Linked DNA regions of Homo sapiens: region 2 is linked to region 1. Evidence: promoter capture Hi-C in human tissues and cell types (Jung and others, 2019). All regions are on one chromosome and are shown on one strand. The core of a region is centred on a gene start or on the middle of the fragment in contact, and the rest is flanking DNA. Distances in the headings are between cores, read along the strand shown.

What was found. Contacts are between HindIII fragments. The study calls those that stand out against the background at their distance.
Region 2: a contact is called between a fragment that was not itself captured here and the fragment with the promoter of COL23A1 in region 1, in 1 of the 25 tissues and cell types used here (lymphoblastoid cells).

The regions. Positions count from the first base shown.
Region 1 is chr5:178,586,911-178,591,832 of GRCh38, reverse strand. COL23A1 (collagen type XXIII alpha 1 chain) reads left to right here and starts at 1,440. Exons shown (of 29, transcript NM_173465.4): 1 at 1,440-1,929. The coding sequence starts at 1,636. RefSeq lists a silencer at 1,239-1,438 and an enhancer at 2,094-2,994. The HindIII fragment of the contact is 6,512 bases long and covers 1-4,922 here.
Region 2 is chr5:179,568,616-179,573,215 of GRCh38, reverse strand. RUFY1 (RUN and FYVE domain containing 1) reads right to left here. Exons shown (of 18, transcript NM_025158.5): 5 at 3,791-3,914. All of the region lies in intron 4 of LOC128966623 (a long non-coding RNA gene), which reads right to left. It also overlaps the pseudogene PRDX2P3. Among named protein-coding and RNA genes, the nearest start is that of RUFY1, 20 kb to the right of the region's middle. RefSeq lists an enhancer at 837-1,337. The HindIII fragment of the contact is 4,788 bases long and covers 1-4,209 here.

The DNA of each region.
Region 1 (4,922 bases), core at 191-2,690:
ATGCAGGTAGTGAGGTGGTAGGCAAGGGCAGAGGCCCAGGGGCCAGTGAGCTTGGCTTTTTCAATACACAGAAGCTTCAGGAACATGGCAAACAATACATGCAGTAACATTAACATAGGTAGGTGGTGTGCAGTTTATGTGCCTGTAAGAAATGTAGTGCTGACTTGTAAGAGGGTGTTGGCCTCTTTTCAGAATGAGGCCAACTTTTCATTCTATTGGGCATACACCAGACTTTAGCACAGAGCCAAGTCTATCAACCATAACCCCCGGCCATCTCAGGGGTTCCCCTCTGAATTAAGGGAAGGAGATGGAACATGTTAGCCAGAGGCACTCAACAGTTCTAAAAGGTGAGTATCCACAGAAATGAGACAACCAGAAGATATCCAGAGTGAGAGGGAAGATGGATATAACGTTATTTTTCTTAAAAAAAAATGGTTGGGGGGTTACTCAAATCACAAAGATCTGAACTGCTGGTTTGTTGTTTCATTTAGGTATTACAGGAGTTAGCGAAAGAGTTACTTGGGACCCATTTAGGACATGAATATGCCTGGTAGGAATCTGAACCCAGCCTGACTTCCAGCAGTTCTTCCCTTTCCTGCCAAGACTTGTTAGTGCCACTCATTCTGTTCTCTGGACCCAGGCTGTACGCCACAGCCTTCTTGCCTCAGCCCTGTGATTTAAATTTGCAGCAGAATCGCAGTACAGGTTAAGTGTGGTGCATACTAGATCATAATTTTTGGCCAAGTTGTGCGTCTAATACAGAATTAAGTCATCAGTTGAACAAGACTTGAAGTTCATTTTCTGAATCTTTCCCATTCGTTATAGTCTCAGTTTTCTCAAAAGCCCTCTCCAGGCCAGAAACAGTCTTACCATTTTTGTTTCCCGCACCGAAGTCCGGCAGCTAAGAACTCGTGAGAAGATTCTAAGGGGCGTATTTCTGTTTGGCGCAATCTCGACCCTGCCTCTCTAAATGTGAGTGCGCAGAGGTCGCTTTCCGCCACGAAGCGGCGCTAATCCACCACCGAGGACAGACCCACTCAGTTTTTTGCAGGATTTGAAGTTTTGAACTTTTACAAGTGTCAGAAAGGTAATTCACAAGTTTAGAGGAATGTGCTAAGGCACGAGTGGTGGGTGCTCCAGCCAGGGGTGGGCTGCAGAAGGGGCGCGGTGTCGCCGGGCTCCCCTCCGACCTCTGGGGTCCACAGTGCGGGCTTGGGCTGGGGAAGCCTCAGAGGTGCGTGCGGGGGCGGGTGCCGGCGCCCGGGCTAGGTGAGGGCAGAGGTGCGCGCTGCGCGTGGGATCAGCCCGGCGCCGACGGGTGGCTCCGAGGAGCTCGCTCCTTCCTCGCCCCCGCCCCCTCGCCGCGCGGGGCCAGCCCGGCCGCTCCTCCCCTGGGTGGGTCCCTGCTCCTTTTCTGGCAGGGTCTATTTGCATAGAGGAAACTGCCCAAAGTGGCCGCTGTGGAGGAGCTGGCTGCGGCGAAGGGGGCGTGCGCGGCGATCCGCTGCTACCCGGAGGCTAACCCCCGCGCCCGGCGGACCTCGTGCCTCGGGCTGTCCCGCCTGCTCCTCTCGCACCCAGCCTCTGCCCCAGCAGCACCGCCCCCTCGGAGAGTCCACGCGCGACGAACGCGCCATGGGCCCAGGCGAGCGCGCCGGTGGCGGCGGCGACGCGGGGAAGGGCAATGCGGCGGGCGGCGGCGGCGGAGGGCGCTCGGCGACGACGGCCGGGTCCCGGGCGGTGAGCGCGCTGTGCCTGCTGCTCTCCGTGGGCTCGGCGGCTGCCTGCCTGCTGCTGGGTGTCCAGGCGGCCGCGCTGCAGGGCCGGGTGGCGGCGCTCGAGGAGGAGCGGGAGCTGCTGCGGCGCGCGGGGCCGCCAGGCGCCCTGGACGCCTGGGCCGAGCCGCACCTGGAGCGCCTGCTGCGGGAGGTGAGCGTCTTGGCGCGTGGCTGGGGCGGACTTGGGTGTGTCGGGTTGAGGGTGGCGGTACGCTGGGAGCCGGGGGCAGCGTGCAGGTCTCTGGGAGGAGGGTCGCCCGCCGGCTGCGTGCGCTCGGGGCCGTCCCAGAGATGGGCACGTCTGCGCCAAGGCGGAGGCAGGGGGTGCCGGCCCCAAGGGGTTTTGCGGTCTCCGCTCCGGCCTCAGGGTCCCGTGCCAGGCAGGCGGCCGCGAGAAAGGGGAAGGAGAGACCAGGGACTTTGGAGTAACAGACCTAGGGTCAGTCTCCACGGGGTGTGCGCTCGGACACGCCGCTTCCCGCCGGCGGCCAGAGTCGGGGATAAAGATGAGGCTCGTGGGAAGTATCTGGTGACTGTGACCAGTAGCACCTACTGTTCCTAACCAACGCTGGTACACCTGGAGAGGCGGTGGTCACGGCGGAGGAAAGCCTCAGACAGGCCCGAGGGCTGGGCCCCGCTGTGCTCCAGTGTGTCTCCAGCAGCTCAGGCCCCAAGACTGAGCGGTCACCGTCGCACTGAGGCCTCGGGGATGGGGGTGGGGGCGCCCACATGACTTGGTAAGATGAGAGGAAGGAGAAACAATCGGGGGTGGAGGACCTGGATTCTGGTTTCAGGCGGTGCCATCTGGGGTGTGGGCTCGCAGGACATCCGGAGTTTCCCGTCCCTTACCTGGGAATCGCGACTTCCACAGCTTACTTGAAAGCTCATATGAGGCTCTGTGACACTTCTAAGGGTTAAGATTGCTGCTGTGTGTCTTCAAAGAAAGAGCCACCTTTGGGTCCTCCAAGCCCTCACCCAGCATGTTGGTCAAAGCCTCCGCCTTTTGTGTGCGGCATGTGCGGCAGTTCCCCTCCCCACGAAACTGGACAGGCCCTGGTGGGCTGGCCAGAGCCTCCCCTGCCGAGCCTTCCTCCTTCTCCTGGGATAGATGGCTGCTCCAGACCCCAAGGTCGCTGTCCAAGGGCGCATCCTCAATTGCTGTGTGAAAACAGGCAGGGTTTCAAGGTGGAGGAGAGGGAGCACTGGCCTGTACACCCCCAATTCCCTAGACTGCCCAGCTGGGATCTTTATTAACGTATCCAGCTGTGTTTCCAATGTTGAGTTCCTTTGGATTCCAAAGGAAAGTGGGAGAAGATGACTTGCGTACCACACCTCCTTGTTCACCCCACCTGTTTCTTAGTCACTTTAATTTAAGCTAGGATCACATCTCTTCTAGCTGGGTTCTGGGTAAAATTGCTGCTTCATGAAATGATTTCCTATTTTACCCTTGAAAGGGCCTGCAGACTTAAAACTCTCTCTCAGCCCTGCTGGAAACTCCTGGCGATGGTTTCATAATTGCCGCCCATTAGCTTTTGGCAAATGCCTGGAGACCAGGGTGTTGAATTGATTTATAGAGGGCCAGTAAAGTTTCTACCTGTTAGCGCTATAAGTGTGGCTGCTCTTTCTCATAGGAGGCCTCTCTTATTTGCTAAAAATAAACCGCAAGCCCTGATTGAGTAAATCAGAAGTCCTGATACAACCATTTTACAAGGAACTACAAATTGTGTCTATTTTAGGAGGGAGGGGCATCCTGGGCAGGCAGCCACTGCTGGGAAGTGTTGATTTTTGAGTCCTGAACTTCAGCGGGAGAGACTGCAGTTGCTCTCCCAGGCTTCCCCCCTCCCGGCTGCACTGAATTTTACCTGGGTGAACTACAGTGCTTGAACAATGAGTTATTGGACAGGGTGTGTGTTCTCTCTCTCTCTCTGTTCTTGATTAGAAAGGCAAGAGAAAAATTTAGAATCCAGGGAACCCTGTATTCTGGAGAATTTGCCGTGCCATTCACACGTGGTCCTGCTCGCTAATCCCAGCTGGGTATCTGAGGCGCATGCTGTGCGTGGAGTGTAAGCTGGCTGGGTTTTCCCGCCAGTGGAGAGTCAGAGATGGTGCAGTATGAATGCAGTTGGGGCTGAACTTCTGGTTGTTTGGGTGGCCCCTGTGAGACAGCTTCTCTCTCTTAGGGTACCAGCCTGTTTCTGCTAGGAGCTATTCTTCTTGTAAATGTCACTGGATGGGAAATGTACACAGCCTGGCCGGTAACAATGAGTTCCTTGGCTGGGAGGAGAGCACTGTGGGAGGCACATACAGGGAGTGAGTAATTAACTCTAATTAGATGTATAGATACTTTTTCAAGCCATTAGATATGAAAGCCAAATAAATATTGAACTCAAAATCTCGGAAGAAAAGAACATTTGTACTTGAAGCTGTTTTTCAGTTCTGATTTGTTCTCAGTGAAGCCTCTTTTCCGTGTATGTGAGTGTGCGGGCAGCTTGTCCTACAGCAAACTTGTTTCCAGAGAACCAGAGGCAGAAACCATGTCCACATTAAAGAAAAGACATCCTTGCCAACCATACATGGCTTTAATGTCAGGGGGAAAGAAGCCAACAAAAGCCACTGTGAATATGGGACCCACTCTCTTTGTTCCCTTGGGAACAGAACTGTGAAATAACTTTTTCTGGGACCGGCTGATGTGCCCGATAATGAAGATACAGAAGCTACAAGAAAGGAATATTCATGTCAACTCATGATCATTAAAGACCCTTCCCATGGCACACAAAGGAAGAGATAAACAAGATTTCTGAGTAAGAGCCATGAACGATCGTATCTTCACTATGATGTGAAAATATTCATGCAAAAAAATCTAATATTTTCCTCTTAAAGTGCTTTAAATAGGTTGCCTAAGTAATCAATCCCCCCATCTTATACCTATAGTTACAATGTTATAAAAGCTTAAAACTTTAGAATACATGGCTTTCATAATACAGTAAAAAATGTAATGCAAGGATTAAAGAAATATTTAGTTGTATTCAGAGGAGACCATGCCAGCTTACAATGGATTTATTGTTGGCTGTTGGCCTTCCATTGTCCAGACCAATCAGTTTGAAAACAAGAAAAGCCCAGAGACTCGAGTAAAGTTTACGCATT
Region 2 (4,600 bases), core at 566-3,065, 980 kb before region 1:
AACAGAAGTACAGCAGAGTAGGCAGGCGCTTAACTACCAGAGTCTAGAATATACTATCTGGCTCCAGTCATTAAAAGAATGTGTCACTGGCATAGGAACACAGATTCAGATTTACAACAGAAGAGTCCAGAAATAAACCAATGCATATTATGGATATTTCACATATGATAAAAGTGGAATTTCAAATTAGTAGAAAAAATATATTACATGATGATATTGCAAAAACTGGTTAACTATTTGTAAAAGAAATTTAGATTCCTACTTCACACTATGCCAAAACAAATGGCAAAAATGTGTAAAATTTACACATTTTTTACACATAAAGTGTGTAAAAAATTACCCAGGTAGAAGCAGAAGGTCTTGGCCTGGCCCTCCAGGGTCCCAGACTGTGGAGATTGGAGGGGCAGGTCTGGCCTTTCCTGGGTTAGCACAGGGTACCCAGTAGGGGCACAAGCTCACTATCCATCGGCCAGCCTAGTTGTGTTTGAAGAAGTATTCCTTGTCATCCACATTGGGCTTCATTGTCGCTACCAGGCTTCCAGCCAGTGGGACAAACTTTCCCGTGCTCATCTGCGTACTGGAATGCCTGGACCAGCTGCAGAGCCTCATCCATGGAGCACCCCAGAGGCAAATCATTAACAGTGATCTGGCAAAAGTCACCCTTGCCATCGATGATAAAGAGGCAGGGTAGGCAATGCCCTCATTGGTTTTCAGCACACAGTAATCTTCAGACAAGCTTCCCGTCACATCAGCGGGTGGGGGATGCTCGGGGGCCTAAGCCTCCCTACTTCTGGGGGTTGTTGATCCAAGCCAGGTGGGTGAACTAAGTCCACCCAGACACCCAGCACTTCGCAGCCCAGCTTGCGGAAATCCTCGGCATGGTCGCTGAATGCGACGTTCTCCATGGGCCACAGAAAAGTGAAGTCCAGAGGGTAGAAAAAGAGGACGACGTACTTCCCTTTGTAGCCCACAGCTTCACCTCCTGGAAGGCGCCATCCACCAGGGCAATGGCCTTGAAGTCAGGGGCTGGCTTTCCGAGCTGCGACTGACTGGAAGCCATGACTGAAAGCTGTGGCGGTAAAGGCTGGACAGACTGACAACCAGACGCGTGGACTCAGGTTCCAGCTCCCCACATTTGATATTAAAAGTTAGGGTAATGTTTAGATAGGGAAGGACCTTCAAAGCACAATACCTTAGAAGGTATAAAGGAAACATCTGCTAAATCTGGTTGCCAAAAACTAAAAATAAAAAACTTACAGGGCAAACCACCACTGAGAAACCAGAAAAAAAATTTATAACAAATAATTCTGAAAAAGGGTCAATGTGCTTAGTCTTTAATAAAGAAGTAGAGAAAGAAAACTCAAAAATGGACAAAGAATATGAAAAGATAATCACAAATGCTGAACCACCAATGGCAAATAAAACAGGAAAATACTTGTAAATTTGAGATAATGAGTTGTTTTGTCCATGAGGCTGAAAAAGACTGAGAATGCTCATCACATCCAGTGTCAGGAGGAAATGTGTTCTCTCCCACACTGCTGGTGGGTGTATATAATGAAGACCTTTCTGGAGGTCCGTTTTATGTTATCTAGCAAAATGTAGCCTGTATACTTTGACACAACAACCCCAAATTTATCCTAAGGAAATACACGGACAAGAGTACAGAGAACTTCAAGGATGTCTATAATATTGGTGTTTTTTTTTTTTTTTTCCAGACAGAGTCTGGCTCTGTTGCCCAGACTGGAGTGCAATGCAGTGGCATGATTAGAGCTCACTGCAGCCTTGATCTCCCAGGCTCAAGCAATCCTCCCACCTCAGCCTCCAGAGTAGCTGGGATGACAGACAGCATGCCACCATGCTCGGCTAATTTTTTTAAATTTTTGGTAGAGACAAGGTCTCACTATTTTGCCCGGGCTGGTCTCAAATTCCTGGGCTCCAGTGATCCTCCTACCTTGGCCTCCCAAAGTGTTGGAATTACAGGCGTGAGCCATGTGCCCAGCAATAGTATTGTCACAATATGGAAACAATCTAAATTAATAAGGTACTGGTTACATAATTGTACGTTAAAAAATGAAATACTACATAGTCATTTTAAATGGTTTATATCTCTCGTTATTGAGAACTGTGTGGAACATATTGTTAAATTTTTTAAAATTACAAAATGGTGTGCTTAAAATAATCATAGTTTGGTTTCATAAAAAAAGAAACCCTTCGAACATCTCACTCTAAAATACACAAACATATACACACACACATGCATGCACACACCTTTATTCATCTGCTAGAAGGGTGTATACCAGAATGTAACACTGAATTATCGGTCTAAGAGTAATGAGAATATGTGTGATGTTTAGTGTCTTTTCAAAAATACTTCTCTGAATTCAAAAAAAGATATTTTTCAACATGCAAAGACAATCGAACTTTTTTTTTTTTTAAAGGGAGGAGAGGTTATAAAAAAACACTGACCTGCACATGGAGGGATCAGGGAATCTTTAGATTCACCAAACACAATGCAGGAAAAAGGCTGGGAATTTTGCTAGGTAGTGTAAAATAATCTCTTTTTTCTGGGCAGTGGCCCAGCTACAGCTGCGGATGCCCCGAAGAGGGGGTGGAAGTGAGGAATGGGTTAGGGTACCTATTCCCCTCACACATTTACAGTCCCTGCCACCAGGAGTTTAGGCCTTGGCTCTGGTCACCAGCTCCTATGCAGGAAGAAAGCCCATCCCAAGAGGGCTGTCCTTCCCACAGAGCACTCTACACCTTACTGGTTACTCTCCTTTGTGCCATTTTATCAACCTGACTTCCCAAATCTCTCCTGACTCTATCTTCCTACTCCCCATCCAGGCTTGCAGGACTTCTAGACTAGTCTCCTCAAGGCTTTTGCTGTATCTATTCTTGGCCACTTCCAACTCATAACCTGAATGGCTGCTAGATTGAGCTTTCTCAAATCCAGGCATGATCATTTCAGTGTACTTTTTAAAAACCTCCAACAGCTCCCCAAAGCTCAGGATAAAAGGGGATAAAAGCTATACCCTTCAGGCAAGGCACAGTGGCTCACACCTGTAATCCCAGCACTTTGGGAGGCCGAGGCGGGTGGATCACGAGGTCAGGAGATTGAGACCATCCTGGCTAACATGGTGAAACACCATCTCTACTAAAAAAAAAAAATACAGGCCGGGCGCAGTGGCTCACGCCTGTAATCCCAGCACTTTGGGAGGCCGAGGTGGGCGGATCACGAGGTCAGGAGATCGAAACCATCCTGGCTAACACGGTGAAACCCCGTCTCTATTAAAAATACAAAAAATTAGCTGGGCGTGGTGGCGGGCACCTGTGGTCCCAGCTACTCGGGAGGCTGAGGCAGGAGAATGGTGTGAACCCGGGAGGCGGAGGTTGCAGGGAGCCGAGATCGCGCCACTGCACTCCAGCCTGGGAGACACAACGAGACTCCGTCTCAAAAAAAACAACAACAAAAAAGCTACACCCTTCAGCATAGCACCAATGGCCTAACTATCAGGCCCAGCCTCCACTTTCACCTCGCCCACAGAGCATCCTCTACTCCAGCCATGGAGAGCTGTCTGCCTGTTCCCAAACCTGCCAAGCTTTCCGTGTGTACCTCTGGCTATGCAACTTCTTCACCCTTCCGAGACCTTCCCCAGCTGCATCCCTGGGGTCCTCTACCAGTGGGCTCTTTGCCATTTGCCCTTCTTTGGGTTCAGTACCTGTTTGCAGATCCTATGTAAAGTCCCTGGACTAACGAAAGTGTTCATCTAGAGCCAAAATTTCATTTTACCTGAGAATCCAAGTCTTCTCCTTTCAAGCAGAGATTGGCATCGAGAACATTGAGTCCCACCAGCAGACCAACAATCACCATCCCTTCTTCCTCCATCATTAAAGCCTCAGGCTCATAGAACTCGCTGAAAGAGATGGACAGGACAGGGCGATGCTCAGAAACAGCTTCACCATCCCCACTCCTTCCCCACCCTGAACTGCCTTTTCACCTGTGCCCTGGAGCCAGAAGATACTGCTGTGGATTTCCTCCCTCCCTTTCATTTCTCTTCACTGCTTCAACGGCTGCTTTTTCTCCCGTCCTCTCCTCTCTTCCTGTGGCTTAGAATGGGCTCGCCTCTCCTCCTGTCTAAAGTTAACTCCTCCATGCAGACCCTGGACCCCAGTTCTCCTCGTCTCCTCTTGACTCCTGTCACTCTCCCCTCCTGTGTCTCCACTGGCTCCTGTTCTGTGTTGATATGAATTACTTCTCCACTTATGCTGATATAAACAGGAAATGGGATCCCACATCCAAGAATAACACTCCTCCTTCTTGCGTCCCACGGAGCAACATCTGTTGCTTTACTTCCTTTATTGCCCAGTTATCGCGGCCATTTGCAGGGGGTGGTCCATCCCCTGCCTGATATTGCTCTGGTCAGCAATGACTTGCTAATGTACCAAATCCAGTGGCATCCAGGCCACTGTGTGTGTGTGCGTATAAGACTTTTCTCTTAAGAATTAGTTCATTAGTAAAGTGAGGGATATGGTAATTACCCTGATTTCATCATTACATAGTGTATACATGCATAGTATCCCATAAATATGTATAATTTTG